Regions from separate parts of the Homo sapiens genome. Here all the other regions are linked to region 2. The links are contacts of gene promoters, found by promoter capture Hi-C in blood cells and fetal thymus (Javierre and others, 2016). All regions are on one chromosome and are shown on one strand. The core of a region is centred on a gene start or on the middle of the fragment in contact, and the rest is flanking DNA. Distances in the headings are between cores, read along the strand shown.

Region 1 (3,774 bases), core at 806-3,305, 260 kb after region 2:
CTTGGGTCTTGGTTTAGGTTTTTGCTTTTCTGGCGCTGTAGTGAAAAGAATGAGCCCCAGAGCCAATTCACCCAACCCAACCCCAGGTGCTCCTTGGTTTCCTGCGGCCGGGGTCTATCCATTTGTAAAAGTCTGGATGGACTGGGAGACGTTGATGGAGCTTTTGCAGTATTTCCGTTTGGGGCTACAGCAGTATGTAGATTTGGGTTCAACTTACCTTCTTTAAACTTTAGTTGGAAAGGGTAACATTTGTCACCAGAAATCCACTACTTCCCTAACTTGATCGACAACACTTACTGATGTACGGATATTGACACAGTACAGGTTTAAGTGAGAGGTAAAGCCAGCTGGTCTTCTGGGTCGGTTGGGGACTTGGAGAACTTTTCTGTCTTACAAGAGGATTGTAAAATGTACCAACAGCACTCTGTAGCTAGGATTGTAAAATGCACCAATCAGCACTTTGTGGCTAGCTAGAGGTTTGTAAAATGCACCAATCAGTACCCTGTAAAACGGGCTAATCAGTGTTCTGTAAAGTGGACCAATCCGCAGGACTTGGGCCGGGACAAATAAGGAAATAAAAGCTGGCCACGCCCCCCATCCCCTAGCTGGCAGTGGCAGCCCTGGGTCCCCTTCCACACTGTGGAAAGTTTGTTCTTTCACTCTTCACAATAAATCTTGCTGCTGCTGCTCACTCTTTGGGTCTGTGGGACCTTTAAGAGCTGTAACACTCCCAGCACTTTGGGAGGCCGAGGCGGGTGGATCAGGAGGTCAGGTGATCGAGACCATCCTGCCTTAACACGGTGAGACCTCGTCTCTACTAAAAATACAAAAAAAAAAAATTGGCCGGTCGTGTAGTCCAAGCTACTTGGGAGGCTGAGGCAGGGGAATGGCGTGAACCTGAGAGGCAGAGCTTGTAGTGACCTGAGATCGCGTCACTGCACTCCAGCCTGGGAGACAGAGAGAGACCTTGTCTCAAAAAAAAAAAAAAAAAAAAAAAAAAACTGTAACACTCACCACGAAGGTGACAAGCTTTATTCTTGAAGTCAGCGAGACCATGAACCCACCGGAAGGAACCAACTCTGGACACATAAGCATGAGACTAGACTGCCCTTTTCTGCACAGGTGCCTTTATGGCCTAAAATGTAGTTACTCAACAAATGTGTTGCATATCAACTACATGGTAAGATCTGGAAGAGAGCACAAGATAGAAACACTTAAAGCCAAAATGCCCTGACCTTCAGAAGTTTACAATTCAGTGAAGGACATACTGGAGGCCGGGCGCAGTGGCTCAAACCTGTAATCCCAGCACTTTGGGAGGCCGAGGTGGGCGGATCACGAGGTCAGGAGATTGAGACCATCCTGGCTCACACGGTGAAAACCCGTCTCTACTAACAATACAAAAAAAAAAAAAAATTAGCTGGGTGTGGTGGTGGTTGCCTGTAGTCCCAGCTACTCGGGAGGCTAAGGCAGGAGAATGGCATGAACCCAGGAGGCGGAGCTTGCAGTGAGCCAAGATAGTACCACTGCACTCCAGCCTGGGCAACAGAGCAGGACTCCATCTGAAAAAAAAAAGGACATACTGGATACCATCCTTAGAGAGTAAGGTTCGGAAGAAAGCTGTAAAAAAAACAACACTCCATTTCTTTCACACGGTAACCAGTGTCAGAGGCGTGTGAACCAGAGCAACTCCATCTTAAATAGGGGCTGAGTAAAGTAAGGCTGAAACCTATTGGGCTGCATTCCCAGACGGTTAAGGCATTCTAAGTCACAGGATGAGATAGAACGTCAGCGCAAAATATAGCTTATAAAGATCTTGCTGATAAAACAGGATGCAGTAAAGAAGCCGGCCAAAACCCACCAAAACTAAGATGGCAATGAGAGTGAACTCTGGTCATCCTCACTACTGCACTCTCATTGAGAGATAACAACGCGCTAGCAGTCCTCGCTCATTCTCAGCACCTCCTCGGCCTCGGTGTCTGCTCTGGCCACACTTGAGGAGCCCTTCGGCCCGCCGCTGCACTGTGGGAGCCACTCTGTGCTGGCGCAGGCCAGAGCCAGCTCCCTCTGCTTGCAGAAAGGTGTGGAGGGAGAGGTGTCCGTGGGAACCGGGGCCAGAGCAAGTTCCGGGTGGGCGTGGGCTCGGCGGGCTTAGCACCTGGGCCAGCAGCTGCGGAGGGGGCACCAGGTCCCCCGGCACTGTGGGCCCGCCCTCACTGCGCTGGAATTCTCCCCGGGCCTCAGCCGCCTCCCCGCGGGGCAGGGCTCAGGACCTGCAGCCCGCCATACCTGAGCCTCCCCCGCCCCCGCCGTGGGCTCCTGCGTGGCCCAAGCCTCCCTGACCAGCACCTCCCTTTGCTCCGCGGCACCTGGTCCCATCGACCGCCCAAGGGCTGAGGAGTGCAGGCCCACGGCGTGGGACTGGCAAGTAGCTCTGCCTGCGGCCCCAGTGCAGGATCCACTAGGTGAAGCCAGCTGGGCTCCTGAGTCTAGTGGGGACTTGAAGAACTTTTATGTCTAGCTAGAGGATTGTACACACACCAATCAGCACCCTGTGTCTAGCTCAAGGTTTGTAAATGCACCAATCAGCGCTCTGTATCTAGCTAATCTGGTGGGGACTTGAAGAACCTTTATGTCTAGCTAAAGGATTGTAAATACACCAATCAGCACTCTGTGTCTAGCTCAAGGTTTGTAAATGCACCAATCAGCACTCTGTATCTAGCTAATCTGGTGGGGACGTGGAGAATATTTATGTCTAGCTAAGGGATTGTAAATAACACCAATCAGCACTCTGTGTCTAGCTCAAGGTTTGTTAAACACACCAATCAGCACCCTGTGTCTAGCTCAAGGTTTGTAAATGCACCAATCAGCGCTCTGTGTCTAGCTAATCTAGTGGGGACTTGGAGAACTTTTGTGTCTAGCTCAGGGATTGTAAATGCACCAGTCAGCACCCTGTCAAAATGGACCAGTCAGCTCTCTGTAAAATGGACCAATCAGCAGGATGTGGATGGGGCCAGATAAGGGAATAAAAGCAGGCTGCCTGAGCCAGCAGTGGCAACCCACTCGGGTCCCGTTACACACTGTGGAAGCTTTGTTCTTTTGCTCTTTGCAATAAATCTTGCTGCTGCTCACTCTTTGGGTCCGCAGTGCCTTTAAGAGCTATAACACTCACTGCGAAGGTCTGCAGCTTCACTCCTGAAGCCAGTGAGACCAGGAACCCACCAGAAAGAATAAACTCCAGACATACCATCTTTAAGAACTGTAACACTCACCGCGAGGGTCCGCAGCTTCATTCTTGAAGTCGGTGAGACCAAGAACCCACCAATGCTGGACACACCATCAACGCCATGACAGTTTACGAGTGCTGTGGCAATGTCAGGAAGTTACCCTATATGGTCTAAAGAGGGGAGGCATGAATAATCCACCCCTTGTTTAGCATAACATCAAGAAATAACCATAAAAATGGGCAACCAGCTATGGAGTAGCCATTCTTTTATTTCTTTACTTTCTTAATAAACTTGCTTTCACTTTACTGTATGGACTTGCCCTGAATTCTCTCTTGCGTGAGATCCAAGAACCCTCTCTTGGGGTCTGGATTGGGACCCCTTTCCTGTAATATCAGCGTTCTGAAGGATTTGAGGTCTTATTCACACTGTTTTTAATCATTCTTGTGGATTGGATTTGGACAATGAGAATTTTGTGGATTCTCCAAAAGTTTTAAATTGATGACAATTTACTGAAAATGATAATAGTGGGATTCACATTTCATGTACTTGT
Region 2 (4,111 bases), core at 1,421-3,920:
GGACAGTACTCTGTATGGAATTTTTGTAGCCTCAAAGCCTGGAAAAATGCCTCAAACTTGGCAGGTAATCAATAAATGTTTGATGAGTGATTAAATTAACAGAAATTAAAGGATCATTTTTGTACATTATAGATCCCTCCTACAACAACACAAACTATTAATACTAATATAAAATTAACACTAATATAAAACTAGATTCCTCAATTTGTTTTTCAAAATGCATATGCAAATCTGAACTGAATTCCTTGGTAACTCAGTTATAAATATACCAAAATAAATATGAAGTCAATAAAATATGGTCAAGAATACATGAATGCTCACTTTATAGATAAATACAAAATACTGAAACATCAGCACATTAAATATTAATACATACAAGAAAGAAGGGGGAACTAAAATGTATTGTATTCAACATACTAATGCTTGTATTCTACTGTGCTAATAAATACATTATTTCAGCAACAAGCCTGTGGGGTATGTCTCCCCATTTCACATTTTACTTTATTGAGCCTCAGAGAAGTTAAGTGATTTGCTTAAGATCACCAAACTAATAGCAAGAACCAAAACTCAAATCCAAGTCTCTCAACTCAAATATCTGTGCTTCTTATTAGTTGTATGCACCACTCTAAAAAGGCCACCTGCCCCCATGCTGATTGCCAGGGCATATCAGACCAGTCTAGCAGGTTTTGCCCCTCATCCCCTTCCTCCCTCCGTTAGCCCAAGGACATTCCTCCTATGTTTCCCACTTATTCCAAAAGTACTTCCCCAGGCAGCCAGAGAAGGTCAAAAGCACCATAAGCCGCTCTGCTTCCCCACTAGGGCGCCAAGCTGTTTCCACCCCACTACACTTAACTCCCTAAGACAGCTAATTATTCTGAAGAGGAAGTGTTTCTTCCACATTTTTCAGTATTTTCCCTGTATTTCTCTCATAGAAGCATGACCATGAAAAAGTCTGATGCAAAAGCATATGACTGTCCATGATTCACAGCAAATTGGTACTTACTGAAGATAGGATTGCCAGTTGACTTTGTTTGCACGAACTTCTGCAGCCTTGGCAGCAATAATATTGGTGGGGACAGCAGCATCCACAGCACCTCGGATATCCATTTTGGTCATCTAAACTTCGTAATCTTGAATGTCTTTCAACAAATCTTCAATTTTGATGCAAGGTAAAAACAGAATACGAGGTGTTTCTTTTTTTTACAACTATTAATATTATGATTATGAATATCGTGATCACTTTAATCTCCCCAGGCATTCAACTCAAATATTAAATGTCCTAAGTCTGAAAGTATCATTATATTTCAAATATTGTCCACTGCTCCATAAAAGAGTTCTTTAGGCTTTTGCTTTTCTAGAAAAATTTTTTTCATTATTGGCACTAACACTGCAGTAAGATTTTTAAAGCAATCACCTAATATACTGAAATCAGAAATCATGATTAAATAGAATAGGTATAAATATGGGAAAAATTGTAAATTTATACAATTGTGGTTAACTTTTCTCATAGAGAAACAATAAGAATATGAATAGTACGGATAAGGCTAGTTTTATAAACATTTACTAAGCATCATTTTGAAGTGGCACATTAAAAATTCTAAGTCCTTTCGAAAATTACTCAAATTAAAATACACAAAGTGGGAACATAATTTCTTAGAAGACAGTGCTTTCCTTTTCAAACAAAATTCATAGTATTTGCAAAATCAAAATTCGGAGAGAAAGTTTTAGAACAAATACATATTACAATTTAGGTAAGCCAACAATGGCGGTCTGGCTGGACGACAAGAACCTACAATAATGAAATTCTATGTAATTCTCACTCCTAAACTTCCAGATACAAACGACTGATTTTAACACAAAGCAAAATACAGGTTGCCACTTGCAAAACATAAATTCACGGCCATGGCCACAAAGAAGTTAAAATCCTACCCAAAATTATATTCCGGGTTTCCAACGATCTTAATCAATTTGGAACTTAATCTCTGTATCTGAAGATTTGCTGTATAAACAACCCTGGGCAGCGCGAACGACAGGGCCCAGGAAAAAACAGGCTTCAACTGGGCCAGGCTGGAACTCTGCAGCCAAGGAGGCTCAGCCTCAGCGGCCCGTCCTGGCGTAGCTCAAGGTGTCTCTAGACAATTACCTAAGTCCCTGAACTACTCGCACCCCCAGCGATCCAGGGCCGTGGCCCAGTCCTGGAGAAGGTATACTTTTTACCCCTCCCCCTCCACTCTCCTGCCCGCCCCTGACGTTTCTTCCCCCTGCGAGAAAGGCTCCAGAATTTCGCTTAATAAACCTGGTTGAGGCCTGGAAGAAAAGCAATCTGGCAACCGGGGGCCGAAGAACAGGAGAGGACCAAGCGGCGAGACACCAGCACGCACCAGGCAAGCTGGAGAAACTGCAAGAGTCGCCTGACCTGGTCTGCAGCCTGAGACCAAACAACGCGAGGGCGGCCTTACCTCGCGAATCCTCGGGACCCCACAACGCACCCAAAGCCGGCAGGGAGGGTGGTCCGGGGCGCCGGGGACACAGCCGGGCTGGGGCGCCGCGTCAGAGCCAAGTAGGCGTCTCCTGTCAGGTCCAGAGGTCTGAGCAGTGGAGGGAGACTCCGGGAGCCGAAAGTGAAGCGGGTCCCGCACCAAGGAGACGTTGAGGGCCGCACAGGTAGAAGGAAGCCAGGGCGGCCGCAGTAGAATGACAGAGGCGCCGGTCACGTGATCGGAGGCACGTGACTGCTGCGGAAGGCGGAAGCCGGGAGACTCCAAAGCAGCAAGAGGAGGGGCGGGCGCTGCGGCGGGGCTTGTTCGGTGCGGACAACTGGATTCCCGAGTCCGTAACTTGGGCCCCGGAGCGACGCAAGGGTCGGGCCCCAGCCAGCCAGGGCAGGTGGGAGGCGGCGAGCGTGGCGGGCACGCTAAGACCCGCCGCCCCCAGACCTAGTGCCTCGCCTAGGGGAGGCCGAGGACCTCCGCCCGGAAGCAGCTAGCAGAGGCCAAAACGCTCTTATTGTAACCGTCATTCTTTTGAAAAGTTTGATTTCGCGCTTTCAAATTAATTTCCATTTGGATTTAACAGCTCCATGAAGCAGGCGTTCTTATTCTGATTTTAAATAGAAAACTCGGGCTGAGAAGTGGGTCTGAAAAGCTCTCTTAACCTAGGGTTGCACATTTAGCAAATAATAAATTCCATTGCAGTATTTACTTTTATACTAAAAAGTTATTCGTTGTTTATCTAAAATTCACATTTACAGGACGTCTGGTATTTTATCCAACAGTCCCATCTGGAGCCCAAATTTTCCCCTAGTCCAGGCCTCAGCAACTGTCTTTGCCTTAAAGTAAGAATGTACTGCCCTGGAGGTGAAGTATATATGATAGCATGTTTTCCTTAAAAAGCAATGAAAGGGGCCGGGCGCGGTGGCTCACTCCTGTAATCCCAGCACTTTGGGAGGCCGAGGCCAGTGGATCACCTGAGGTCTGGAGTTCGAGACCAGCTGACCAACATGGTGAAACCCCATCTCTACTAAAAATACAAAAAATTAGCTGGGTGTGGTGGCGCATGCCTGTAATCCCAGCTGCTTGGGAGGCTGAGGTAGGAAAATCACTTGAACCCAGGAGGCAGAGGTTGCAGTGAGCCAAGACCGCACCATTGTACTCCAGCCTGGGCAGAAAAAGCAAAACTCCGTCTCAAAAAGAAAAAAAAAAAATTCTTTGAAAGGGATTTATAACCAACCCATTTTTACTCGTAAAATTAAAGTCAGAATAATCAAAATCATGCATTGATTATGAATAAAGATATATAATAACAGTGTCAAAGATTGTACTAGGTCACTCATTCTGTCTTAGCCAGAAGTGAAAGTCTGTTGTTTTGAAAGCAAATCTAAGGGGAAAAACTTTCATAAAAGAGAAAAAGAAACCGATCGTGTACTAAGAAACTCCCAAAAGCTGAAACAGCATGTTTTCTGTGTAACTGAGCAAAGCTGGCAGTGAGGCCTGATCTTCGCATTTCCTTTCTGTATCACCTAAGCCACAGACTGGCGTGATACAGCGAGTCTCATCAGATTTCGGGAGGCTCTCCTCTTTTCCTAGAGGCACAAAGTTATGGAACAAAATCA
Region 3 (3,733 bases), core at 116-2,615, 320 kb after region 2:
ATGCAAGCTTTAAATTTGTAGATCAATTCAGAGAATATGGCTATTTTAACAATACTAAGTCTTCTAGCCAGACATGGTGGCTCACTTCTGTAATTCCAGCACTTTGGGAGACCAAAGTGGGAGGATCACTTAAGCCCAGGGGTTTGGGACCAGCCTAGGCAACATAGTGAAACTCCATCTTTACAAAAAAGTAAAAAATAAAAAATTAGCTGGTGGAACATGCCTATAGTCTCAGGTACCTGAGGGACAGGCAGAGGCTAAGGTGAATCCCTTGAGCCCTGGAGGTTGAGGCTGCAGTGAGCCATGATTGTGCCACTGTACTCCACCTTGAGTGACAAAGTGAGACCATGTCTCAAAAAAAAAAGTCGTCTAATCCATGAACATGGGCTATCTCTTATCAGTATGTGTTTTTGTCTTTTATTCTATTAATTTGGTGTATTACATTGATAGATTTTCAGATATTAAACCAACCTTGTATACCTGGGATAAATTCCACTTGGTCATAGTATATAATCCTCTTTTATATGTTGCTGAATTTGGATTGCTTGTATTTTGTTGAGTTTTGCATGTATCATTTAAAATATATTTGTAGTTTTTTGTGATGTCTTTGGTATCAGTGTTATACTAGGCAAATAGAATGATTTCGAAGTGTTTCCTCCTCTTTTTTTTTTTGAAGAATTTTTGAAGAATTGGCATTAATTCTTTAAATATTTGGTAGAATTCACCAGTGAAGTCATCTGACCCTGGGCTATTCTTTGTGGGAAGTTTTTGATTAATAATTCTCTTGTTATACATCTTTTCAGATTTTCTATTCTTTTTTATTTCTCTTTTTTTCTGTGATTTTCTACTCTTCTTGAGTCTGTTTTTGTAGTTTGTGTCTGTCAAGTAATTTATCCATTTCAACTAGGTTATCTAATTGGTTGGCACACAATTTTTCACAGTGTTCTCTTTATTTTTATTATTTTATTTTATTTTTGAGACAGAAATGTGCTCTGTCACCCAGGCTGGAGTGCAAGTGGCATGATCTGGGATCACTGCAACCTCTGCCTCCCGGGTTCCAGCCATCCTTCTGCCTCAGCCTCCCGAGTAGCTGGGACTGCATGCATGCACCACCATGCCCAGCTAATTTTTGTATTTTTAGTAGAGATGGAGTTTCACCATGTTGGTTAGGCTGGTCACAGTGTTCTCTTATAATTCTTTTATTTATTTTTTATATTTCTTGAGACAGGATCTCACTCTGGTTGTCCAGGCTGGAGTGCAGTGGTGCCATCTCAGCTCACTGCAGCCTAAACCTCCTGGGCTCAGGTGATCCTCCCACCTCAGCTTCTCGAGTAGCTGGGACTATGGGCAAGCATCACCATGACTTGCTAATTTTTTGTATTTTTAATAGAGGTGAGGTTTCACAATGTGTCCCAGGCTGGTCTCAAACTCCTGGACTCAAGCAATCCACCAGCCTCGGCCTCTCATGGTGCTGGGATTACAGGTGTAAGCCACCATGCCAGGCCTGTTATAAGCCTTTTTTATTTTGGGTTGGGACTGTTGTCTTATTCATTTCTGATTTAGTCATTTGCTCTGCACGTGGTAAAAGATACCTTTTATATTACCATAAGAATATTTATAAACCAAAACTTTAAAATATTTCAATTTTTTAAAATTTGAGACAGAGTCTCGCTCTGTCGTCCAAGCTGGAGTGCAGTGGTGTGATCTTGGCTTACTGCAACCTCTGCCTCCTGGGTTCAAGCAATTCTCCCACCTTAGCCTCTCGAGTAGCTGGGATTGCAGGCACATGCCACCACCCCTGGCTAACTTTTGTATTTTTAGTAGAGATGGGGTTTCTCCATGTTGGCCAGGCTGGTCTTGAACTCCTGGCCTCAAGCAATCCACCTGCCTCGGCCTTCCAAAGTGCTTGAATTATAGGCATGAGTCACCGTGCCCTCCCCAAAACATTTTTTTTAATGTAAAGAAACTTACATTTAAAATAAAACTAGAATAGTAGACATACTATGTGCAAATGCCATAAATTGACATCCAGTCTGCCAACATAAGGATTCTATACATTTTTCTTGTGTACTTTCTGTAAGTCCTAAACATTTTCCTTCACAGTGCCTTCTCATATCAAGCAGAGGTTTGTGGTTATTTCTCTTCCCTGACTTCAATATTACATTGACATCAAATCATCACTCAACTGATTTTAAGATGAAAGACCACTGGTTTGGAGGACTAAGATTTATAATGCAGCAGGTGTTATAAACTGCTGACTGTCTTAAATATAAGGAGTGACTCTGGCCCAGAGAAATTCCTGGGGAGGCTGGGTCTCTTTTTATTGCTTCTCCCGTATGTAGGTGGGACAGTTCTCAGGAGGGATTGGGTCATTGTTCTGTGTACAAAAGTTGCTGGAGGCAGAGGTAGAAATTTGCTGTCTTGCACAGGGAGATGTGACAGAGAATTTTAGGCCATAGCCCAGTCCAGCCAGCTGTAGCTCAGTGTTGCTGATAGCGAGCCTAGTTCCTCTCTGGAGTCACATTGGTCAGAATAACCTGACACTGGGAAAGGAGTTATTCTAATGCATACTTATTGCTTCCTATTAATACCGTATGTAGCATCTCTGCAATTTTATTGCATTAACTGGAGAATGAGAAAGTGTTAGCTGCTGCTGGATATTGTCCGGAGTTAGAGAAGCTGCCATTATATTCCCCTCATGACTCGCCGCTGGCCCCTGCTGTCGAAGCTTCGCTGTGGCTTCACTCTCAGGGCGTGTATCTGCCATCACTGCCTGCATGCTGATAGCCTGGGACACACTATTGCACACCAAGCGCCTTTGAGCAGGCACTTGTCTCACTTTTCTCAAATGCTGAGTTGAAGGGGTGTCCACGCCTTTTTCCTCATTGAGCCAGTAGTCTCTTGGTTACTTGTATGCAGTAGTTATCGAGAGTGAAATGCTGACTTCTGCTTTGACAGACTAGAGTAAGGGACCCACGGAAGTCATGAGCAATGACCCCTGAGAAGCCTTCCAGCTCTGGAGCGCTCCAAATCATCCTCCTTTTCCCTCGAGTGGAAAAGTAGGTTTTGTTATCACGAAGTGAATGTAGCCGGCTCAAAATAGGCAAGACTGCCACCTACTGACCAAATGGGAACATTCCTCAGGGAATTTCTAGGTTTGATCTTTGCCCTACAATTAATTGGGATAATTAGTTATTCATGAATTTATAATTCAACAAACCTGAAATACACACAGGACACAATGCTGGACACTGGAGATAATAAACAAAAATTTTTTTTTTGAGACGGAGTCTCGCTCTGTCGCCCAGGCTGGAGTGCAATGGCACCATCTCAGCTCACTGCAACCTCCACCTCCGGGTTGAAGTGATTCTCTGGCCTCATCCTCTTGAGTAGCTGGGATTACAGATGCACGCCACCACGCCTGGCTAATTTTTGTATTTTTGTAGAGACAGGGTTTCACCATGTTGGCTAGGCTCCTCTCAAACTTCTGACCTCATGATCAGCCCACCTTGGCCTCCCAAAGTGCTGGGGTTACAGGAGTGAGCCACCGCACCCGGCCAGGAGATATTAAAATTAGAAAGGTAGAGTTATTGCCCCATGGGCATACAGAGACCAGGAGAAGGGAACAGGTAATTAAGGGAACAAATCATTAAAATACAGTGTGGTGCTATGCTATAAGTAATCTGCCTCCCAACACTCTGGTTCACCTTCAATTTTAAAGGTATTGGAACCT

What was found. The method cuts DNA at HindIII sites, captures the fragments that hold promoters and counts their contacts. A CHiCAGO score of 5 or more calls a contact.
Region 1: a fragment that was not itself captured here is called in contact with the fragment with the promoter of ATP6V1H in region 2 in 1 of 17 cell types (neutrophils); the score reaches 7.2 in neutrophils.
Region 3: a contact is called between a fragment that was not itself captured here and the fragment with the promoter of ATP6V1H in region 2, in 14 of 17 cell types (M2 macrophages, M0 macrophages, M1 macrophages and 11 more). The highest score is 14.7, in M2 macrophages.

The regions. Positions count from the first base shown.
Region 1 is chr8:54,102,179-54,105,952 of GRCh38, forward strand. No RefSeq gene overlaps it. Among named protein-coding and RNA genes, the nearest start is that of LYPLA1-TCEA1, 2.1 kb to the left of the region's middle. The HindIII fragment of the contact is 2,057 bases long and covers 1,028-3,084 here.
Region 2 is chr8:53,840,575-53,844,685 of GRCh38, forward strand. It overlaps ATP6V1H (ATPase H+ transporting V1 subunit H), which reads right to left and starts at 2,671. Exons shown (of 14, transcript NM_015941.4): 1 at 2,460-2,671; 2 at 1,004-1,151. The coding sequence starts at 1,116. RefSeq lists enhancers at 2,620-2,759, 4,057-4,106 and a silencer at 2,830-2,979. The HindIII fragment of the contact is 7,596 bases long and covers 1-4,111 here.
Region 3 is chr8:54,163,240-54,166,972 of GRCh38, forward strand. No RefSeq gene overlaps it. Among named protein-coding and RNA genes, the nearest start is that of MRPL15, 30 kb to the left of the region's middle. RefSeq lists an enhancer at 2,428-2,477. The HindIII fragment of the contact is 2,721 bases long and covers 6-2,726 here.